2 separate regions of the Homo sapiens genome follow, and region 2 is linked to region 1. The links are contacts of gene promoters, found by promoter capture Hi-C in human tissues and cell types (Jung and others, 2019). All regions are on one chromosome and are shown on one strand. Each heading gives the region's core, a stretch centred on a gene start or on the middle of the fragment in contact. The rest is flanking DNA. Distances are from core to core; before and after follow the strand shown. Region 1 holds the start of SYDE2 (synapse defective Rho GTPase homolog 2). Region 2 overlaps MCOLN2 (mucolipin TRP cation channel 2).

Evidence for each region. Contacts are between HindIII fragments. The study calls those that stand out against the background at their distance.
Region 2: a fragment that was not itself captured here is called in contact with the fragment with the promoter of SYDE2 in region 1 in 1 of the 25 tissues and cell types used here (neural progenitor cells).

Annotation. Positions count from the first base shown.
Region 1 is chr1:85,199,431-85,205,172 of GRCh38, forward strand. It overlaps SYDE2 (synapse defective Rho GTPase homolog 2), which reads right to left and starts at 1,586. Exons shown (of 7, transcript NM_032184.2): 1 at 822-1,586. The coding sequence starts at 1,566. LOC124904207 (a long non-coding RNA gene) reads right to left here and starts at 812. Exons shown (of 2, transcript XR_007066199.1): 1 at 721-812; 2 at 1-609. RefSeq lists an enhancer at 701-1,312 and a silencer at 1,325-2,474. The HindIII fragment of the contact is 20,475 bases long and covers 1-5,742 here.
Region 2 is chr1:84,955,570-84,961,240 of GRCh38, forward strand. It overlaps MCOLN2 (mucolipin TRP cation channel 2), which reads right to left. Exons shown (of 14, transcript NM_153259.4): 3 at 2,960-3,133; 4 at 862-1,015. Among named protein-coding and RNA genes, the nearest start is that of MCOLN2, 39 kb to the right of the region's middle. The HindIII fragment of the contact is 6,848 bases long and covers 1-5,671 here.

The sequences.
Region 1 (5,742 bases), core at 336-2,835:
CATACAAAATAGGGAGCTTAATCCTATTATAAGGATCAATATACTTTTTAAAAAACTAATTTACTTCTCTTATAAATAGGATTTAAGTTTGCAAATGACTGCTTTAAAAACAAAACTACCTGAGGAACATTTTTCTTTTGATTAAAATGTTAGTGTCCTTGATTTTTCACAATAAAAAGATTACTTTGTTGAGGTTTCTTTGTCGGGGGGAGGCAGGTGGAGAGATGGTGTATGTGAAATACTACCTGACTAAAAAATTCTACTTATGGTAGGGTTTTTTTTGTTTGATTTGTTTGGGTTTTTGGTTGTGTGTATGTATGCATGTGTGTGCGTGCCTGGGAGAGGCAAAAAAAAAAAGTTGTAATGAGTAAAATGACAGTTTATGAAGCCTATAAAATCTACCTTGAATCAAATTCAAATTTACAAACTCCACAAAAGTCTACGGATTTGCCTAGAGCTACAAAGAATAAAAATCAAGACAGTGCCGCCCATCTGTAAACCTACTAAAAGTGTGTTATACTTAACCTTTACTCCTTTAGGTAATACTTAGGGAATAGACACACTGGTTTTTCGAGAAGAAATCACAACCTCAATTCTTCATGCCATTGTCTGATTAAAAAGAAAAAAAAAAGCAAAACGAGTAAATGCATTACATTAAGTAACCCCGAAATTACTTTAAGCTGCCACTTACATGACACTTACTTTCGCCCGGTAACGTACCTGTCGCAAAAACATAACTTTTTCTTGGCTCTTAAGACAGAAGCCCAGTCGGTAAACAGTAAGGCTCGCGGTGCTAGCATTTTCATCGCAAAGTATCCTACCTGTCAGCGTAATTCTTTGGTCTGGAGGCACCGACAGGACACGGTTTTCACGCACTTTCAAAGCGCCCACATTTGGGGAGGCTGCCTGCGTTCCTGTGACTTTGGGAGCCGTCCCACGGGCACGACCCTTCATTCCCAGGGACAGCAGACGCCCTTTGTACATCCACTTCTGCAGCTTCTTGACTGTCACTGCCGGCGGCCTGAGGAAGGAGGGGCCTTCCTGGCGGTCTCCTTTGCCACTGCGTATCACAGAGGACCCCGCTGGATCCCTGAAAGGGCTTCCCGAGGAGCAGCCGTGGTCCTTGCAGCCTGGAGGCTGGAGGCCGGTGGGTGCAGCCGCCCGGGCGCGGTCCCCACTCCAGCCGTCCATCCTGCCTCCACGTGGCGGGGGCTCGTCCCAGTCCCGGTGCGCGCCGCACCTGATCCAGCTGTCGCTCGGCCACCGCTGGAAGGGAGGCGGCTTGGCACCCACCCGGAGGCTCTCGAGGCTTCTGCTGCAGGACGGCCGCATCCGAGGAGTCCGCAGCTGGCCTCCCCGCGGCTCCCTCTGAGGCGACCGGGGCGGGGACACCTGCTGCCGAGGGCGTCCGCCGCCTCCCCGCTCCCCGTCCCGGGGGCAGGCTCGGCGGTACGCGGCGCCGCGGGAAGGCGGCTGGCCCGGAGCCCGGGCTCCCGCGGGGAAGCTGTGATCCGCCAAGCCCCTGCCGCCCCGCCGCGCGCCCGAGTCAGGGGGCAGGTCGTGCATGGCCTGGATCAGCAGATAATAGGCCTCTCGCAACTGGGTCCGCAGCCTGCCTGTCTCCAGGCGGCCGCCCTCCGCCCCCAGGGAGGAGCCCGCCGCTGGGGGAGGCGGGGGACGCCGTTCCGCCTCCGCCCCCTCAGGCTCGGGCGCAGACTGCGAGCCGCCGGGCAGGTTTTCGTAGTAGTCGGCGTCGTAGTCGTCTTCGTCCTTGTCGTCTTCCTCCTCCTCTCCGCTGTCCTCGGAGCCCTCCGGGGAGTGCGGAGGGGCGTGAGCGAGCCCATGGCTCTGGGGGGCGGCCTCCTGCCCGCCGCGCGGCCGAGGCCCGAGCGCCCCCAACTGCTCCGGGTGCCCTCCGGGGACCCGCGCCCCGGGACCCCACGCCTCAGGTGACGGCGAGGGCTGCTGTAGGCTCCGCCCGTGTCCCCCGGCGTGCTCACGTGGGAGGGTGTCTGCGGCACCCCAGGCGTCTCCCGCGGCTGCCGAAGAGGCCGCCACCGCAGCTGCGGCTGCCGCCCGGAGCCCTAGCCCCCCGGTGCCGCGGGGACCCCGCCTTCCCCGGAGCCTGGACAGCGTCCTCCTCAGAGGGTCCGCCATCCCCTCTGCCTTAGCCGCGAGGCTCACCCCCGCCAGGGGGAGAGGTCGGAGCCCCGCTGGGGAGAAAACCGCGCTCGCGGAGGCGGAGGCGGAGGCGGCGGCGGCTCCCCATGACCGGCGCTGGCCCTCGCCGGCTCCTCACATACTTGGCATAACTCTGCCGCGGGAAGGCGTGGGGGAGGGCGGTGGCGCCGCAACGCGCATGCCCCGGAGCCCCGGGCCGCGACGGGGCGCGCGGGCCGGGGGCGGCAGAGGTGGGTTCTCGGGGTGGGCGAGTGGTGCAGGTGGAGGCGGAGGGCGCGGGCCGGTAGGTTGAGTAGTAGGTCGGCTGAAGCTGACCGACGGAAGCAGGGGTGGGCGCACAGAGCGCGAAGGGTGCGGGGAGAGTTGAGGCAGGGGAAAGAAGAACGAGCAGGAACGTGAGTTTGGGCTGGTGGCTGCAAAGTTTTGGTTAGGGAGCCCGAGAAAGGGAAAGTGCCCTCCTGGCTGTCACCCCAGCACCTTCACCGCCACCGCTGCACGAGGTGTGTCTTAGGCACAGCAAGTCCTAGCTTGAGAGAAAACAAAGATTGTTTTGACGGACAAAGTACGAGTGCAGGTGTATCTCGGTGCATGTGTTCTAGAAATGTATCAATCATTTTAATCGCCCAGAGAGCTAGCTAGCTAAAAGAAATTTGCAGCGATTCCTTTTCTATAAGAGTTCTTTTATCAAAAACAAAACAAAACCCACCCACCGATGTCTCTTTTAAGTCTGTTTTTCCTTCTTTATTTCAGTTAATGCATGCTAACAAAATTATTACATCAGCCAAAACTTGTAAAATGGAGCCACAAATATTATGTCCCTCATCACCCTACCTACAAGATTATCATACAGGTTTGCAGCTTTCTAATATAAAAAAGTTAACACTTCATTTTAATTTAAATAGTGAGTTGAGAAGCAATTGAATTGAAGTTGAGACACAGTGTAATCTAGAAATACCGGCTGTCTCCCAAAAACGTTAAATTCCAGGTTCTGGGCAGCAGTTGCAAACTCAAGTACCCCTCGTTGCCAGAGATTAATTGATTCAGTGACTGATAAGAATCAGTCGTGCTATCATCCCTGATTTGAGTTACTTTTTTTAGTGTTTACATAGTAGAAAGGGCCTTTTTCTGAGTTACTCATAAATATGCTGACACCTAGCACAGTGCGTGCACTTAGTAGATACTCAAATACTTAAGAAAATATTTGTTGAATAAATAAATGTTTGCATTACTGAATAAAATGAAATAATTTTGCCCTAATTTACCTTATTTGCAACTGCAGTATATTTTCCTATGTCAGTTGTTTTCTTGTTGTCCAGTGGCTCCAATCTCTGAATGTGCTTTGACTATACTACCTTTATTAGTACCTAGTCTCTGCTTTCTGGAATAATTGTTACCTGCATCTGAGATTTGCAGATAAGAGAGAATATTTGCAGAAATCTTACCCACTCTCTAAAACTCTGCTCTAGGCCAGGCGGGGTGGCTCATGCCTGTAATCTTAGCACTTTGAGAGGCTGAGATGGGCAGATTGCTTGAGCCCAGGAGTTCAAGACCAGCCTGGACAACATGGCACAACCTGGTCTCTACGAGGAACAAAAACAAACAAAAAAAAAAACACAAAAAAAATTGGCTAGATGTGGTGGTGTGCACCTGTAGTCCTAGCTACTCTAGAGGCCGCGGTGGGAGGATCACTTGAGCCTGTGAGGCTGAAGCTGCAATGAACCGAGATCATGACACTTCATTCCAACCTGGATGACTGAGGGAGATTCTGTCTCAAAATAATAAGAATAAAATAATAAAACTCAGCTCAACTGCCTTCTTGTTTATGAAGTCATCTCTGATCTCCCAGACGGGAACTCAAGTTCTAAACTTCAATATTACTTTATTCCCACCCATAGTATAGTTACTGTTTTTTGTTTTATACAGTTTGTATACATGTCCTTTCTCCTTTACAAGAAAATTCATAAACTCCCTAAGGGCAGAAACTGTTTATAATTGACCTTTATATTCTCCACAGGAGTATAACTTTAGCATCTTATATATTGTGCATGATGAATAAACATTTTTGAATTAATATCAATTTTAATTTAGAGAGAACAAGTGGCTTTAATTCCAGTCTATTGCCTAACTCTCCACTAGACCATGCTATATTAGTGTTGTTTTAAAATTCTTTCTGCGATGAGTAAGAGACACAGTTTGTTAAATAATCTTAATTCGTATCTAAGAAAATGCAATGAAATGTGATGAAATATTACACTATAATTTGCATATATTGATATTTGTAGTTCTACAATATTTTCATTCCATGGGCCCCAGGCTATTTAATGAATAGTCAAGGCATAAAACTATGTCCCAGTGAAATATTCCCACAGGAAATGACTGATAGCAAAGTTGCCAATAATGGTTCTATAAACACAATTTGATCTCTATCTCAGAAATTGTTTCCATTCCAACTCTGTTGCAAAATCTTTTTATGCTTTGTAGTTAACATAGCTGTTAAGAACACTATAAGCTGCATATATATCTATATGCAGATAGATATATATGAGTAGAAAAATATAACCTTGAAGATCTGGATTGAACTTCATCCCGAATTCAGTTTATCCACTTGTTCAGGAGTTATAAAACATTGGTTATTGGCCAATATAAAATACTATGCATTGTTCTAGGCGTTACTCAGAACTAAGTTTGATGCAGCATACCACGACTGAACTTAATGCTTCTTTAAAGTTGAGAATGTTCTAACTCATGAATTCACAATTTTAATCATTTTGTGTCACAACAGAAATTAATAAGGCAGTCATGGCCATATGACACTATTTAAAGACCTTAATAATGTAAATTCCACTTTTCTGTATGTGCATTACACATCAATAAAAAGTTGGTAAAAATGTAATTCTAAAGAGACAATGCCCACAAAACTTATATTATGCCTAATATAATTAAGATAATGACAAGATATGAACATAAACTATACTTTGTAAAATCTTTTTTTACAATTTGTATCCTATTCCCTCACTTATCTCAATTTTCATATCTTTCTAATCCATAGATTCCCATGAAAATTAGGGGATGGGAATCATTTTTCAGTGTTTATACTTGTTTCTCAGTGACTGGGAAATAATTTTGATGCCCCATCTATTACTAACTATGTGTTGGCACTGTCACAAAAGATATAACAACTACGGGATAACAGGGCTCCAGTAAGGCAGGGATCCAAACTAGGGATGGAGTAGCACTGACTCAATCTGGGAGGAGGGGGAGAAAAGCAGGGCAAGTTGAGGCAGAGGGCTAGGTTTAACAGTAATAGAAGGGAAGTGTTTAGGTATGTTATGGTTATTTTCTAGTCAATTTAGAGTGCATTTCTGTCTCACTGATGTTCAGTCTTCCATTATACTCTTAGTGGAACCAAAGGCAAATTTAGCTCTACCATTTGTCCAGTATTGTCTCCCTAAACTGCCTTACAGGGATGTCCTGGAGTAGACCTCCCTCGTCTGCCATGCAACTCCGTTAGTATGGAGTAAAATATACTTCAGCCTAAAGCTGACCACGCTAACACTGCAC
Region 2 (5,671 bases), core at 1,318-3,817, 240 kb before region 1:
ATTTTATTCTAAATGGGATGGGAAGCCACTAATGATTTTTAAGCCTGGAAGAGATATGACCTGATTTACCACTGCGGTTTCTGCAGGGCAGGGCAGGGGCTCGTAGAGGCAAGACCAGAAGCAGGGAGACCACAAGTAGTGGCTTGGATGACAGTGGTGGCAGTGAAAATGGGGAAATTGGCAACTTCAAGTACGGGGCTTGAATAACTGGGATTATTACAGTATGATATGAAAACATGATGACTACACACCAGAGGTTTGTTGAGTGAACAACAAAACAATAAAATAATGAAACATTATTTTAAAAAACAAAAAGTCTTAAGCCAAACACCTCGTATTTACATACAGTATGCTCTTAAATTCTTAACAAAATAGCACAAAACAATTCGACTTGATTAGCCATTAACTTGTTGCCAAGGGATCTCCTAAGAGAGAAAGTGAGTTGTTAATCACAATTCACCTTTGAAGAGCATTTCTATATTTTACAAATAATAAAAACAAGTGTACAAAACATCTTTATGTATATTATTTCATTTAACACATACAGACCGTTTTTTCAGAAAGCCTAATCACCCCTTCATAGGGAAAAAAAAACAAAAAACAGGACCTGTGAATATACCCCCAAACCAACAATCTTGAGTTGCTCCAAACAGATCCACAAATGCTGTCCCTGTCCCATCGCCACAACCCCACAGTTTCCTGAGCCAAAGCCCCTCTGCAGGCCAGTGTTGGAGTGTCAGCCCCTAACAGGTTAGCTCTCACCAAAGCAAAGTTTTTCCATCTGGGTTGCTAGCACATGAGGGCATTTCTGCTCTTACCAGAAGACGATAAAGGTACATCATGAAATTATCACTGCATTACCGAGCTCAACGTCGTTGTCAATATTCAGTGTCTCATTAGAAGGAAACATGGTCCCTTTCTTGTAATGCTGCTTACAGACTTTTAAGCCAATTCTATTGTCTTCATTTTCTCCATAACCAAGGGTCCCCAGGGTAATGTCCTTTAGCTGATGATACTATTAAAAAATAGTCAAGTAAAAACCACATATGACCTTTTATAACTTTGATCAGAGGTTATAGCATATAGAATGTACTTTCAGTTACTTTGTATTGTTTACATCATGGCTCTCAATAGAACTTCCCAATTTAAAATACTACAAAGAAATCTTCTCAGTTTGTTCAGCAAGACACTGCCTCACAGAACTCGAAACAAAACAAGGTGATGGACAGCTCCCACCTCACTCAGCCAAAGCCAAGGTCCTGCCTTATCTCTAGGACCTCATCTACTCCAGTCCCTTGGCTCCAACCTGCAAAGCTGCACTGCCCTCCAGGCAGTTCCTGGAGCTCACACGCATATTTTTGCCTCTGGCCTTTGCTGTTCCCTCTGCCTGGAGACCCACGTACATACCCGCTCGGTTTACTCACTCCTTCAGCTCTCAATTCCGCACCTCAATGAGGCCTTCCCTCCCCAAGCCAAGGAAAATTGCAAACATATATCAAAACATCACATTGTACCCCATAACTATATACTGTGTGCAATTATGCCCTGTCAAATAAAAATAAAATAAATGCAGTAAAAAAGAAAGAAAGAAAGAAAATCACAAACATCCATCACTGCACCCAGGTACTTCCCATCTCCTTCCCTGCTTTACTCCTTAGCAGTTATTACTTTCTAATATCTACTGAGGACATGAGCCATCCACACTCCACAGCTTACATCAATGACTAACATGAACCAACATTAGCTTACCTCAGCTTACATTAACATGGCTTTACTGTTGGCTATCTGCACTAATAGGGCTTTACTAGCTCTGTCTTCATTAATACGACTTTACTATTCCTGAAAATTTTTGCCCTGGACCATAAAATTCCCTCTATTATTTCAGGAACATCCAAAAAATTCATTGAAATAGATAACAATTGGAAGATTTTGTCTGAAAACAACTCCAAGATTCTTTGAAACTGCCTTCCCAATCCTCACCTTGCCATGTCCATCAGTCCTAAATTATTATATCATCATCCTTACCTAATTCTAATCAAGCTCCCCTCACATTAAAGAACTCCCTCCTCACCCAAGGCAAGATGGCCTCTGATCAATATAGCATCTCCCTTACCACTCTAAGTAATAAGCTCAGCTTTGCTCATCAACATGTTTTTTGTGTGGTATTCTCAGGGAGCTAGCATTTGATATTACACATTTCACTTCTTTTTGTCTAGCTCTTCGTTCCAGAATTAAGCTCTATAAAGGAAGGCGCTTTGTCTGTTTTATTCACTGATGCATCCTCAATGACTGGAATAACACCTGCTACATATTAGATACTTCAATATTTATTGAGTGAATGAAAAAGAGCAGGAACAGTTTCTCTTTCCTAAATTATTTCTTCAAGTCTACTAATCTGCTTTCTCATACCTGTCTAGATACAACTATTTTATATTCCATATTCTTAAGATTCAGCTAGGGTTATTAATGCTAAAACATCACAATTAAGGCCACAGAATCCCTGATTTTTTTATTTATTTACTTATTTATTTTGTAGAGATGGGGTTTCACAATGCTGCCCAGACTGGACTCAAAGGATCAACCCACTTTAGCCTCCCAGAGTGCCTGGATTACAGGCATGAGTCACTACGCCAGGCTGGAATCTTTGATTTTATATTAAGCTTTCATCAAGCCTTCTGAGATTAAAAATCTACTCTTGCTATTTGATCTGGGGTAATTTTCCAAAAGCAGTAGGTATGAAGTGATAAATTAAAAAGATAAATATTTTTTAAAAAGTCAAAATAGGCAAACTCTTTTGTGTAGAAATGTAGCTTCAGAAATAGCAATAAACATTTTTTGGCAGACTGCAAAACTTACATTAGAATATTTTAACATGTGTATAATTTTTGTTTGTTGGCTAAGACAAGGCCAAGTATCAATACATTGTTAAAGTATAGGTCATTCACAACAAAACACTTGCCTGATTAATAGCAAAAAAGATGCTCTCATAGGCATCCTCTTGAGTATATACACTGCAGCTGTAGTCATCTTCATCTGTACCAGAATATCCTTTCAAAAACAAGTGCTTAAAAGCAACAGTGTTATCTTCTTTGAAAGCAACCACCAGCTGGTTACTTAAACCAAAACGAACAAGCTAAAAAATAAAATAAAATAGAAACACATGAATTACACCATTTATCAGGGGAGGCAAATGTCTTCTCACTATCATCAACCATTACCTATAAACATCAGAAAATAATATCAATTTTTTTTGGTTTATACTAATAGCATCAATGTCAAAATACAAGTCCCACAGAAGAATAACCTCATCAAGCTACATCAGCAATTCAAAGTAGCATAAAATTAGAAGAGATTACTGCTCCCAATGACTACTGACTCTACTGGCCTTTAAGAAAGAAAGAAAGAATCCAAATCAGCTAAGTCTCAATCCATTTTTCTTATATTTGGATTTCAAGTTAATTGTTTTCAAAATCAATTACTTAGTAAAGCAGTAACTCATTGTATTGATTTAAGATTTAGAAATTGTAGTATTTTTTAAAATCACAACTATGTTTTACATATGGCTTTTAAAAGTGTTTTTTGAAAAGTAGCCTACATAAAAACTTACTCCAGCTAGGAGGTAATAGTTGTCAAAAGAATTCAATTAATTCAGCTCTGCAAGAATTCTGTATAAAATTTACACCTGAGAGTTTCCCTCACCAAATTCTACAGTATCAAAGCACATGAAAGAATAACAGAGCATGCTTTACTTGTATGATGTCAAACCCATTCATTGTCACCAAGCATCCACCTACTGAAAAAATGCCCACTTATTCTCCCTTTCACTGTATTCTGGCAGAATTTAGGCACCCAAGGGCTCTCTTCACCAGAAGTGAAAGTTTTCTTCTTGGAACCCAATAAATGGAGGAAATTAGTCAGCACCAAAAGTTTACACAAAACCTAGGAAACTACACACACAGCTACACACATACCTCATCACACACGCACTCTCACACGCACATTCACACTCTCTCACGTGCGTCCTCTCTGTCTCTCTCACATACATACACAGGCAGTGACGGTAGTCAAATCTCTATAAGCCCTGTCCCACACACCTTTCCCCACCTCCCTAAGTGATTTCTTCAGCTGCCTTATAAAACAATGAGACTAGAAAGTTTGCTCCAAGTCCTCACTCAACTAAGCCACCAAATTTTGGGACTGTTTTCTTCCTATGTAAAATTAGCAAGTGTAACTAGATGACCCTGACAGTTCTGTTATTTGTTGTCATTCCATGGTTCAATATGATACATCTGAACAATAATATACAAGATACAATTCTGAACAATTCAGATAAAACTAATGTTAATTTAGCTGGGTGAGGTGGCCTGTGGCTGTAGTCCCAGCTGCTTGGGAGGCCGAGGTGGGAGGATCACTTAAGCCCAGGAGTTCAAGGCTAGCCTTGGCAATATAGCAAAACCTGTCTCTAAAAAAATAAAGTAAAATAGCTAATATTAATTTGCATATGCAAACAACATACAGGCATACGGTTTTTTCATGGTTTACATTTTTTAGCTTTTATATTTTGTTGTTTTAAAAAATACTAAAGAATTAGGAAAAATAATCACCATTTTCAGCAATTATTATATGCCAGGTACTGTGCTAACTGCTTTACATGCAGTGCCTCATTTACCCCAAGCGGACTATGAAAATGTTACTACTGTTATTCCATTTTACATACGTGCAACCTGAGATTTAGCCTCATTAAATTGCCCAAGTCACCAGAATGGAAGCCAAGTCTAATTCCAAAGTCATCTGTGTTATGCTATAAAAACAACTTCCTTCTGCTGAAAAAGTTCTTTAGGATGCTTCTTATAATGAACTTAAGTGCTAGCTTTTCAAAATTAGGAAAGGCAACTATCGCTTGAGAAGGTACACAGATGCTACTGTTCAGCATTTGAGTCTCACCATGTCACATTCCTCAAATGCCATGTCAAAGGATTGTGCAACTGCTAAAACTCAGCTATTCTAAGGAAAACATCAGATAAGAAGTCCCACATCATCCAGCTTGTGCTGAAAATTAAGCAACAGAAGGTTATAAGTTCTTCTAAGCATGTGATGTCTGTCAATGGTGCCTGTAGGAGAAGCCAGAAAAGGTCATGTTGCTCTTGAAAGCTAAAATGTAAACCAGGGAAGCAACACATACATGATTGCTTCAAAGTTTTATTAAAACTACTGACACATATGAAAAAACTGGTACACACACCACACATGAATGAAGTTCTTCAATCAAAGTTTGCTGAGTGCTTACTCTAAGCCAAGCTGGTATACAACGTGGAAAAGAACACTGCATGGTACGGAATAACAACTCTTATCTGTTGAGAACCAGGCATTGTGCTAAAATTTATAATTATTATTTCTCATTTAATTCTCAACACCCTATTATTACACTGGGCTCTGCAAGGACAGGAATGTTTTTCCTTTTTCCCTGCTATTATATACTCAGGAAATGAAATAATGCCCATCACAATGTCAAACACTGAATCAGCTGATGAATATAATCCCATTTGATACATATGCAATCTGAAGTCAAGTAATTTATCCAGGTTGGAATATCCAGAAAATGTTAGAGTAAGGATCTGGACCCAGGTCTGATTGATTCTAGAGTCTGTTTGTTCTCTCAACCTCTTGGCCC